2 separate regions of the Homo sapiens genome follow, and region 1 is linked to region 2. The links are contacts of gene promoters, found by promoter capture Hi-C in blood cells and fetal thymus (Javierre and others, 2016). All regions are on one chromosome and are shown on one strand. Each heading gives the region's core, a stretch centred on a gene start or on the middle of the fragment in contact. The rest is flanking DNA. Distances are from core to core; before and after follow the strand shown. Region 1 has its middle 70 kb from the start of TENT5B. Region 2 holds the start of TMEM222 (transmembrane protein 222).

Region 1 (5,994 bases), core at 746-3,245, 240 kb before region 2:
GTTTTCCAGAAATTTGTTCATTTTGCCTATTTTTTTTTTTTTTTTGAGATGGAGTTTTGCTCTGTTGCCCAGGCTGGAGTGCAGTGGTACAATCTTGGCTCACTGCAACCTCCACCTCCCTGGTTCAAGTGATTCTCCTGCCTCAGCCTCCCCAATAGGTGGAATTACAGGTGCCCACCACCATGCCTGGCTAATTTTTGTATTTTTAGTAGAGACAGTGTTTCACCATGTTGGCCAGGCTGGTCTCAAGCTCCTGACCTCAAGTGATCCACCCGCCTCAGCCTCCCAAAGTGCTGAGATTACAGGCGTGAGCCACTGCATCTGGCCCATTTTGCCTAAATCTTTAAATATATTAGCATAAAGCTATTCATAATAACTTCTTTCTGTTTAAAAGCTTAACTATAAAATATAGCTCACAAACAGAAAGGTACATAAATTAGAAGTGCATAATGTGTAATTATAAAATAAACATCTGTGTATTCACCACCCGACTCAAGAAACGGAAATAATTCCAGCACCACAGGAATCCCCACGTGCCCCTTCTCAATCACATCCCTCCTTTCCTCTTAAGGGTAATCATCCTTGTATTTTTATGATAATCTCTGTCTGCCAGTATAGTTTTATGGTTCTTTCTAGTTTATCCATCCCTATACAATATAATTTAGATTTTTCTCTTCTTGAACTTTATGTAAATGGAATCATTCCCTGTAGATCTCTTGTGTTTGCTTCTTTTGTTCACCATTGGATTTACACCATCAATATATGTTATTGTGAAGTTCTAGTTTGTTTGTTTTCATTGCTGTTTAATATTCCATAGTATGATTATAAAAATTATCCACTTTACTGTATATATATATATATATATATTTTTTTTTTTTTTTTTTTTTTTTTTTTTGTGGAGATGGAGTCTCACTCTGTTGCCCAGGCTGGATGTGATCTTGGCTCATTGCAGCCTCAACCTCCAGGGCTCAAGTGATCCTCTTGACTTAGCCTCCCGAGTAGCCGGGACTACAGGCATGTGCCACTATGCCTGGCTAATTTTTGTATTTTTTGTAGAAACAGAGGTCTTGCCATATTGCCCAGGCTGGTCTCGAACTCCTAGGCTCAAGTGATCTGCTCACCTTGGCCTCCCAAAGTGCAGGGACCACTTTACTATTGACAGGCATTTGAATTATTTCACTTTGAGTGTACATAAACAATTCTACTCTGAACATTTGTGGACATGTTTTCTGGTACATAGTGCATACACTTCTTAGGGGATTTTTCCTGTCCTGTTTCTGAGTCTTAGGGCCTGAGTATTTATACTACTTTACTGGAAAATGCCAAACTCTCCCGGGAGGTCGTTATACTGATATACGCCAGCAGCATATGAGAGGCCGTGCTGCACCACGTCCTCGCCACTATTTGACATTGCCAGGCTTTTGAATTTTCCTAACTGGCACATGTATCATGGTATTTCATTACAGTTTTTGCATTTCCCTGCTTATTTATGGAGTGAAGCACTTTTCCATATATTTATTAGCCATTTGAATTTTCTTTTTCTGTCACATGCCTATTATATGTATTTATTTTTCTTCTCTTTTTTTTTTAAATTGAGACAGAATCTTGCTCTGTCGCCCAGGTTGGAGTGCAGTGGCATGATCTCAGCTCACTGCAGCCTTGACCTCCCAGACTCAAGCCATCCTCCCACCTCAGCCTCCTGAATAGCTTGAACTATAGGCTTATGCCATCACACCTGGCTAATCTTTGTGTATTTTGTAGAGATGGGGGTCTCACCATTTTGCCCAGGCTGGTTTTGAACTCCCGGGTTCAAGTGATCTGTAGGCCTCAGCCTCCCAAACTGTTGGGAATTACAGGTGTGCCAATTTGTCTATTTTTCTATCAGTGGATTTGTCTTTTTCTCTTTTTTTTGAGATGGAGTCTTGCTCTGTCGCCAGGCTGGAGTGCAGTGCTGTGATCTCGGCTCACTGCAACCTCCGACTCCCTGGTTCAAGTGATTCTCCTGCCTCAGCCTCCTGAGTAGCTGGGATTACAGCCTATGCGCCACCACGCCCAGCTAGTTTTCATATTTTTAGTAGAGATGAAGTTTCACCATGTTGGCCAGGCTGGTCTCGATCTCCTGACCTCGTGATCTGCCTGCCTCAGCCTCCCAAAGTGCTGGGATTTATAGGCCTGAGCCACCGCGCCCAGTTGGATTTGTCTTTTTCTTATTGATTTGTAGGAGTACTTTATATATTCTGGATAGAACTTCTTTATTAGTTTTATGAGTTCAAGTATTATTCCATGTTATGCCTCATTTTTTCATTCTCTTTATGGGGTCTCTGAATTTTAACATACTTAAAAATATCTGCCTTTTATGGTCTCTCATGGTACCTTATTCCCTTGTTTGCGTGGTTAACAGTTCACTTTTCTTTTTTTTGAGACGGAGTCTTGCTCTGTCTCCCAGGCTGGAGTACAGTGGCTTGATCCTGGCTCACTGCAGCCTCTGCCCCCCAGGTTCAAGCGATTCTCCTGCCTCAGCTTCCTGAGTAGCTGGGACTCCAGGCTCCCGCCACCACGCCCAGCTAGTTTTTGTATTTTTAGTAGAGACGGGGTTTCACCATCTTGGCCAGGCTGCTCTTGAACTCCTGACCCTGTGATCCACTCGCCTCAGCCTCCCAGAGTGCTAGGATTACAGGCGTGAGCCACTGCACCCAGCCGACCCTGTCTCTCTCTTTTTTTTTTTTTTTTTGAGACGGAGTTTTGCTCTTTTTGCCCAGGCTGCAGTGCAATGGCGCGATCTTGGCTCACCGCAACCTCCGCCTCCCAGGATCAAGCGATTCTCCTGCCTCAGCCTCCCGAGTAGCTGCGATTACAGGCATGTGCCACCATGCCCGGCTAATTTTGTATTTTTAGTAGAGACGGAGTTTCTCCATGTTGGTCAGGCTGGTCTTGAACTCCTGACTTCAGGTGATCCACCAGCCTTGGCCTCCCAAAGTGCTGGGATTACAGGCGTGAGCCACCAGGCCCAGCCCCGACCCTGTCTCTTAAAAGCCCAGTTTGCATTTTTAAAACACATAATTTATTGAAATCTTGAGGCTGAGGATGATGGTGCATTCCTTCAGAGAACATTTGCATTTGCTTCTATCAGGTACTAGGGGCATTACAAGCCCGAGGTCATTTTCAACTGAATTCACAGTTTGAAGATGTGTAGAGCATGGGAGGTGATGTGAGTTTCTTGTGCGATTCTGCATAAGGGGTAGTGTCAGGATGCAACTTCTCAGATATCTGATTGTCTTCTTCCTGCTCTTTGTGGCACCAGGGCATATTTCCTTGCAGGCCCCTGGGGGTGGGGGATTGGTTTCTTCTGGTTCACCCTTACTCTGAGAGTATGACACTTTGGGGTCTCATATCAGATTCTCCTTCTTGGTTAAGTTCTGGACTTTGTGAGACCACCCAACCTGAAGCCCCTGTATACCTGGCTAGCAAATGATCTCAGGAAAAAACAGGCTTACCTCTCATTTCACTTACGTTTGACTGGTGATTTCATTATTAGCTGGTCATTGATTTTCAGGAAGATGTTTTTAGGAAGATGTTTACCAGAAACTGTACTCCCTAAAGCTTATGTACTGAGATGTCAATTGGCAAACTAGTTATAATAGGTAAAATGTTATAATAGGCAAATGTGTTCAAAACAGGGGAATTATTAAATAAATTTACAAGATAACATATTGCAATTATCATGCTCATTTGCTAAAATACCCTTTATGGCAAAGACTGCTTGGTGTCCACCAAAATCTATTCTCTCTTTCTTTTGTATAAACAGTAGAGTTACTTAGCTGCCCACCTAGAGACTACAGTTCCCAGCCTCCCTGCAGCTGGGTGGGGCTATGTCATAAGTTATTGGCAATGGATGTGAGCAGAATTGATGTGTGTCACCTCCAACTACAGGCTTTAGAATTTAGGTGCCTTCTCCTTCATGCTCATTTCCTTCCCGTGGTTTAAACACGGACCATGGTTTGACCATGAAAATTAGGAGGACACCTTAGGGGATGTCAGAGGAGCAATGAGATGGAAGGAACCTGGCATTGAATGACAGCAGGGCACACAGTGGCCCCAACAACCTGGACCACTTATCTCAGGATCGTTACATGAGAAAAAAACACTTATGTGAAGCTGCTGTATTTGGGGACAGCTTTGTGACAGCACCTTAGCCTCATCCCCAACTAACAGAGACCCATTTAATAATGCTCCCGTCCAGGGATATGTCCAGTACATTAATCCTAGTTCTCAACTTCCTCCAGTCTTAACCTCTCTTTGGGTCTCTTCTAGGGTCTATGGTTTATCATTATCACTATCTCTTTGCCAATACCTGGAACTCCATAACCCCTCTTTGACTTCATCTTATTTGCCTGGCAAAACCCATCTGTCTTGGTGCCTGCACTCAAGTATCTGAAGATCACTGACAAATTCGTACAGCTGAGCTGAGCAGTGCCACTGTTCTCAAACATCAAAGGGACTCGACACGGAAAACTCTACTGTTTTTCTAACACGAACAGTTTCTTTCTTCTCCTCTTTCTCAAGGTAACTATTTCACTTCTTTTCCTCTTTCTTCAAATTTCCTATTTCCCTTTCTAGATTCATTCTCATTTGATTTGGTAACCTTGCCTGACTATTTATTGAGAGAATTAATGCCTTCAGTCACACAGACACCTTTTCATCTTTCCTCCACAAAATCTGCAAACCCATCTGCTTCTTCCTACTTTGGAGATGTTGTCCCTACTTCTCTCAAGGGTGTCTTTTTTTTCTCTCTCTTCTTTCTTCTTTTCTTCTTCTCCTCCTTCTTCTTCCCCTTCTTCTCTTTCTTCTCCTTCTTTTCCTCCTTCTCCTTCTTTTTAAGACAGGGTCTCGCTCTGTCACCAAGACTGGAGTGCAGTGGTGCAATCATGCCTCAATCTCCTGGGCGAAGCGACCCTCCCACCTCAGCCTCCTGACTAGCTGGGGCCACAGGCATGGGCCACCACCCATGCCTGGCTATGTTTTTTTGTCTTTTGTTTTTTGTAGAGACACAGTGTCTCTATGTTGCCCAGGCTTGTCTTGAACTCCTGGACTCAAGAGCTCCTCCTGCTTCAGCCTCCCAAAGTGCTGGGATTACAGATGTGAGCCACTGTGCCTGGCCTCAGAATGTCTTGATTCTGAATCTCTACCTCTTTTACTTTATCAAAGTGTTTCCTTCTCTACTGGGTCATTTCCCACCACTTTAAAAACATTTCTAATATCCACTCTCCACCCCCAACACACACACAAACAAAACAAAAGTAAACTAATGGCTGTATTAGTTTTCTATTGCTGTGTAATACATTACCACAAACTTAGTGGCTTAAAAGAACACACATTTGCCAGGCGTGGTGGCTCATGCCTGTAATCTCAGTACTTTGGGAGGCTGAGGTGGGTAGATCACCTGAGGTCAGGAGTTTGAGACCACCCTGGTCAACATGGCGAAACCGTCTCTACTAAAAATACAAAAATTAGCCAGGTGTGGTGGCGCGCACCTGTAATCCCAGCTACTTGGGAGGCTGAGGCAGGAGAATCTCTTGAACCCAGGAGGTGGAAGTTGCAGTAAGCCGAGATTGTGCCATTGCACTCCAGCCTGGGTGACAGAACGAGACTCCGTCAAAAACAAACAAACAAACAAACAAACAAACAAAAAACACATTTATTGTGTCACAGTTTCTGTGGGTCAGAAGCCCAGCATGTTTTGAGTCCTCTGCTTAGCATCTTACCAGGCTGAAATCAAGGAACTAGCCCAGACTGTGACCCCAGCTGGGGCTCAGGGTCATCTTCCAAGCTTATTGGTTGTTGCAGAATTCAGTTTCCTGCAATTGGAGGACTGAGGTTTCTACTTTCTTGCTGGCTGCCAACAGGGGCCATTCGTAGCTCCTAGAGGCCACCAGTTGCTCACTGACATGTGACCCCCTTCACAAGAGGACAGTTTGCTCCTTCAAGGCCAGCAGT
Region 2 (6,027 bases), core at 3,025-5,524:
TCTGAAATAGTTTATTGCACTGAGTTGGTCCCCTTAATCTCCTCCCCACCATGGGAAGGTTTGGAGTCATAATGGAAAGAGGCCCAGCTTCCAGGGGCCAGAGAGGGCAATGATGAAGCTGAGCAGAAGAGAGTACGCTGTCCTCCCACATGCTGCATATACTGCAGCATGCCCCTGGCTCAGGCTCTTTCCCTGGATTGAGGTGATTCTTCCCCAGAGCCCTTAAGGAGACATCTACAGTCAACAAATAACTCCAGTGACATTACCTGAGCACTTCCTCTCTGCCAGTTGCCTAGTTGGATACAGGGACCAATAGATCCAGTTAGTCCCCTTCTCAAGGAGTTCACAGTCTCTTGGGAGCGACAGACATGTAAACAGCTAATGCTAATGCAAGTACACATGAATATTCAATAGGTGGAAACACAGCCTTCGTGCTCTGGGAGCAAAGAGGGAGCATTTGCCTGAAACCTTGAAAGTAGTGTAGAAGAGGAAAGGAAGGACATCCCCGATGAGGGAATGGTGTGAGCCAACACACAGGGTATGAAGTGCAGGACTTGTTCTGTGAAGGGCAAACAGGCCAGTGAGGCTAACTCCAGGCAAGTCCCGAAGGAGACTGTGAGAAATGAGGCTGGAAGGAAAATTTGAGGGCATCATGAGGGGCCTTGAATGCCAGGAGCGAGATATCCTGAAAGAGGAGATTTGTGAGTCCTGGGGACTTATACATGGGGCCAATTGAGGGGGTGCGCTGACTCCCACCAAGAGAGGAAATGCCCCAAGCTCACCCTTCAAACAAGCAGCATCTTACCCTCAAAGGTTTCCCAGCTTGACAGTTTCAGCTCTGGCATCCTTCCCTCCCCCAGCCAAACCCATAAGTGGATCCAGATGGTCATTCCTATTTTAGGTTGGGGTGTGTGTTGGGGGAGGGATAGCTCTGAAACCTATCAATCCTGTCCCAAGCTCAGCCATAACAGGAGCTTCCTCCAGGACCCTGCTGTGATCCTGTGAGCCTGGAAGGAAATATTAGTCTTTGATGGAGATTTCCCATCTGTTTATGGGTGATAAGGAAGCAACAGCAGAGGAGTCCAGGGCACAGGCCAGAGAGACTCTTACAATTGGGTGAGAGAACCAAGGTGTATATGTGAGAAGGAGTGTTCTGCAGGGATGAATCCATTATTTAAAAAAAAAAAAAAAAAAAAAAGGCCGGGCACGGTGGCTTATGCCTGTAATCCCAGCACTTTGGGAGGCTGACGCAGGTGGATCACAAGGTCAAAAGATCAAGACCATCCTGGCCAAACATGGTGAAACCCCATCTCTGCTAAAAATACAAAAATTAGCTGGGTGTGGTGTTGCGCACCTGTAGTCCCAGCTACTCGGGGAGGCTGAGGCAGGAGAATTGCTTGAACCCAGGAGGCAAAGGTTGCAGTGAACCAAGATTGTGCCACTGCACTCCAGCCTGGTGACAGAGTGAGACTCTGTCTCAAAAAAAAAAAAAAAAAAAAAAAAAAATCTTGTGGATGGGTTGTGGTGCGGGGCAAGCCTGTGGGACAGGCACCAGAGGATCTGGCTTCTACCTCCAGGTACCCGGCCCTCCTCATGCCACGTTTCTGCAGCTGCCTAGGCCAAGGGTAGGATGACGTGGACCTTAGGAAAGGAGCCAGGGCTCTGTGGTCTGATCCTCTGCCTGAGCACTGTTCCCACCAACCCAAGCCCATTGAAAAGGTTTGGGACACCAAGAGGTAGCAGGTTCCTGCGTTTAGACTGTAACCAGCACGTGATACCAAGCCTGTAAGTATTTGCCTTTCATTCAATTTAACAAATATTGATTAAACAAATACCATGCACTAGGCACTATACTGGGCATTGGGTATACACACGTTAGCAAGACAAATAGAGTTTCCAGTCAAGTGGGGGAGGCAAATAGTACATAGCTACAAAGAAGCTATGAAGAAAAAGAACAGGAGATTAATGGGGGCTTTCTCATTTAGATTGGGAGACCAGGGATGGGCTGAGAAAGTAATATTTGATCTGAGACTGGAAGAATGAAAGTTAGCCGCTTTAAGTAGATAGGAGTAGTATTTCAGGCAGAGGGGAACAGTGTGTGCCAAGTCCCTGGAATATGAAGGAGTGCATGAGAGGAACTGAAAGAAAAGGCCAGGATGGCTGTAGTATAGTAAATAAGGAAGGGGCATGGGTCCAGATGGTGCAGGGCTTTGTGAGCCATAGTAAGATATTTGTGTTTCATACGAAGTGCAACGGGAAGCCATTGAAGTTTGGCAGATTAAATGTGGTACGTGTATTAGTACTACCAAACTTGTGGCAGGCCCTGAGAGACTTACTTTGGTTGTTTATTCATCAATACCTACAATAAATGTTTAAAGGGTACCCAGCAACCCTGTGCTAGAATTATGGGCTGACAGTCATGGTAGGGAGATGTCTAAGGCACAGACCTTCCTCACAGCCTGTGGTCCAGAAGAGATTAGATAACTACAGTGATTGAATCAAGAAGTCATGTAATTTATTCTCAACAACTGTAAACTACACACCTAATCTATTCCAAACCCTGTGCTGGATGCTGGTTGTTGCCCTTCAAGGATCACACACTGCACAGGGGTCAAGGAGAGGTACAAACGTGCTCAAAGAATTTGGAGTGGGTTAGAATCATTTTCTAACCCACTGTAATCATTATCATGCCTGCGAATCTCTGAGGTCTTTATAAAACATCCATTTATTCAATCACCTAATAAATCAGTAAACATCTAGTGGGCATATGCTTTGCACCAGGAACTGTGCCAGCTACTGAAGTCAAGGACCTTAGAGTTCTATAGCAGAGACAGACATCCCCCACAAAAAAACATGAAAATATTAGGTGCTACAAACAGGACAGCAAGCTCTCCATAGATCAGCATTGAGGGAGGGTAATTCAGTGGAAGAAGGACCTTCCCCAAATGGGAAGCTCCTAACTTCCTGAGTGCATTTGTCCATACCTTCCTTTACCTGATTACTCTTTTTATTCTTTTTTTTTTTTCTTTAAGGCTGATTTTTAGTGGCAGCCTTCCTTCTGACTTTGGGCTGTCCCCAACTTCCCCTCCCCACCCCAGTAGACCCCAGTAGACTTCATTTTCTTTGTCTTGACATCCTTTAAAAAGCCAAAAGTCTCCAACATTTGAGCCTGGCTTCTCTCTAATTATGGTTGTGTGTGATCTCAAACAATTAACTTCCCTGAGCCCGTTTTCCCATTTGTACAATGAAGGGATTGGATCACATCTAAGGCTTATGATTTACTCCAGTAAGTATTCACACTCTTGCACACACTGCTCTGCACGGCCTTCCTTTCTTTGTACCGCTGCACTCATACTTCCACTCCTGTGCCACATGGCAAACATCAAGACTCAACTCAATAATATCCTATCTTCCAGCAAGTCTTCCCTGTATATACAATAAAACACACACACACACACACGTGCGCACACACAACTGTGTGTGTCTTCCTTTATGCTACCACTACCTCGTGAGAGGGCCACAGAATGAAAAGGGCAAGGGAGGTATAAGACTTGGGTTTGGGCCAGGCGCGGTGGCTCACGCCTGTAATCCCAGCACTTTGGGAGGCCAAGGCGGGCGGATCACAGGGTCAGGAGTTTGAGACCATCCTGGCTAACATGGTGAAACGCCACCTCTACTAAAAATACAAAAATTAGCCGGGCGTGGTGGCACGCGCCTGTTATCCCAGCTACTCGGGAGGCCGAGGCAGGATCGCCTGAACCTGGGAGGTGGAGGTTGCAGTGAGCCGAGATTGTGCCATTGCCCTCCAGCCTGGGCAACAAGAGAAAAAATTCCGCCTCAGAAAAAAAAAAAAAAAAAAAGACTTGGGTTTGCATCGTGGTCTCTCACCTTTTGAACCTCAGTTTCTCACCTGTAACAGGAGGGAATACCTAATTTGGATGTCTAATTAGTTTATGGGGATTAGAAACAATTCATGTCAAGTGCTTGGCACCTAAGAAGTGCTCAATAAATAGCGACTGTACCACACCTCCTAGGAGCCCTCAGCGTACTGAATTAGAGTTCTCTATAAGTCTCCGGCGCTAGACTGCGAACTGCCTGAGAGCATCCCTTCTGCAGCCGCGGGGCATAAGCGGCAAAGACTCGGGGCTGGCAGGCGCATAGGGAGTGGGGCGGGGCTGGCCGGGCCCAGAGGAACGCGGCTCGGATTCCCGGGGGAAGGCCAAGCGGGGCGGACCCCATCTCCGGGAAGTGACGCCATGGGGACGAGCGGCACCAGAGCCGGGGCCAGTCGGAGCGGGGCGCGCGCCGCATGGCGGAAGCGGAAGGGAGTTCTCTGCTCTTGTTGCCGCCGCCGCCACCCCCGCCCAGGATGGCGGAAGTGGAGGCGCCGACGGCGGCCGAGACGGACATGAAGCAATATCAAGGCTCCGGCGGCGTCGCCATGGATGTGGAACGGAGTCGCTTCCCCTACTGCGTGGTGTGGACGCCCATCCCGGTGCTCACGTGAGTCTCTTCCGGCATCCGCCTGGGGACGAGGAGGGCCCAGGGAGAGCCGGAGTCGGGCCGGGCTAGCCTCCGGCCCCAACGCGCAGCAAGCCTTTTCCTCGGGTCTGGCCCGCACGCCTCGCCCAGTCACCAGAACCCCGCCATCCATGTAGTGCCAGTTTGTGCACACGGCTGGGACACGCTCCCTGCTCTCAATACACCTGGTGTAGCCAGGGAGAGAGTTGTAGGCCAGCAGGAAAGGGCAAGTGGCTGGGAGACTCGAGCTGTGAGTGTGTAGAAGAGGGAGCCCCTTATCGGATCTGAGGAGACATTTTTATTAATTCACTGGTTTATTCTCTCATTGAGCAAATGCTTACTGGTCGCTTACCATATTCCAGACATACTGCTGGGTCTGGGAGCAAGAGTGGGAGTTTGGTTGGGACCACACGAGATCCTGGGATGTCAACATTGGAAGGGCCCCCAGAGATCTGAGAGTCCAACCCTTTGTCTCACGTGCCATCTCAGTTGCAAACTGGGTTTAGATCCCAGGTTGTCTGCCTCCCAGACCAAAGTTCTTTCTGTAACATCAGCCTTTGTCAGGGGAGAAGCAGGTGCTCTGGTACTACTTGGCGCCTTTTGGGAGGAGCTCTCATATGGGGAGAGGTGGTTTGCCCTCCTGCTTCAACCTTGACAGCTGATAAACGTAACCCCTCCTCACCGTGCTGGATAGTTTGCCAAGCTCTTAAACACCCATTTTATCAGAATTAAACATCCATTTTCTAAGGTAGGTTATCTTCTCAGATGGTGAAGCTGAGCTGCTTGTAGCATTAAGTGTCTTGATCAGGTTCGCACCCCAATAAGCAAAGGCATGAAGAGCTCAGTCTTCTGATCTAACTTGCTCTTTGCACTACATCTTATCCACTCTCACCTGATGGGATAGCTTGTTCCGCTATCAATAACAGCCAGTGGTGATGTGGAGAAGGGATCATTTGGGGCCTTAGGTGTTGCTGATTCTAAAAAGATCGTAGTTTTTGAATTATGTTAAAATACTTGAATTATTTTGTGTTTTCAAGTACTTATGCATATAAGAGCATCCAAATCTGTTCTTTAAAAATAAAATATTGGGACAGGCGCGGTGGCTCATGCCTGTAATCCCAGCACTCTGGGAGGCAGTGGAGGGTGGATCGGTAGGTAGTTCGAGACCAACCTGGCCATCGTGGCGAAACCCGTCTCTACTAAAAATACAAAAATTAGCTGGGCATAGTGGCACGTGCCTGTAATCCCAGCTACTCTGGAAGCTGAGGCAGGAGAATCGCCTCAACCCGGGAAGTGGAGTTTGCAGTGAGCCGAGATTGCACCACTGCACTTCAGCATGGGCAACACAGTGAAACTCCGTCTCAAAATAAATAGTGAAATAAAATCTTAGGAAAATGTGCACATTAATTCATTCAGTGTTCTTCTAACACATGTGCTAAGTGACCCCTGTGTTCCCAGATAGTTCTAGGTGATGCGAATATACAGTGATGAATAAAGGAGATATGG

Evidence for each region. The method cuts DNA at HindIII sites, captures the fragments that hold promoters and counts their contacts. A CHiCAGO score of 5 or more calls a contact.
Region 1: a fragment that was not itself captured here is called in contact with the fragment with the promoter of TMEM222 in region 2 in 1 of 17 cell types (endothelial precursors); the score reaches 6.4 in endothelial precursors.

Annotation. Positions count from the first base shown.
Region 1 is chr1:27,080,238-27,086,231 of GRCh38, forward strand. No RefSeq gene overlaps it. Among named protein-coding and RNA genes, the nearest start is that of TENT5B, 70 kb to the left of the region's middle. The HindIII fragment of the contact is 3,206 bases long and covers 393-3,598 here.
Region 2 is chr1:27,317,889-27,323,915 of GRCh38, forward strand. It overlaps TMEM222 (transmembrane protein 222), which reads left to right and starts at 4,275. Exons shown (of 6, transcript NM_032125.3): 1 at 4,275-4,503. The coding sequence starts at 4,310. It also overlaps the pseudogene ACTG1P20. RefSeq lists enhancers at 3,689-4,235, 4,236-4,783, 4,283-4,632, 4,784-5,330. The HindIII fragment of the contact is 7,674 bases long and covers 1-6,027 here.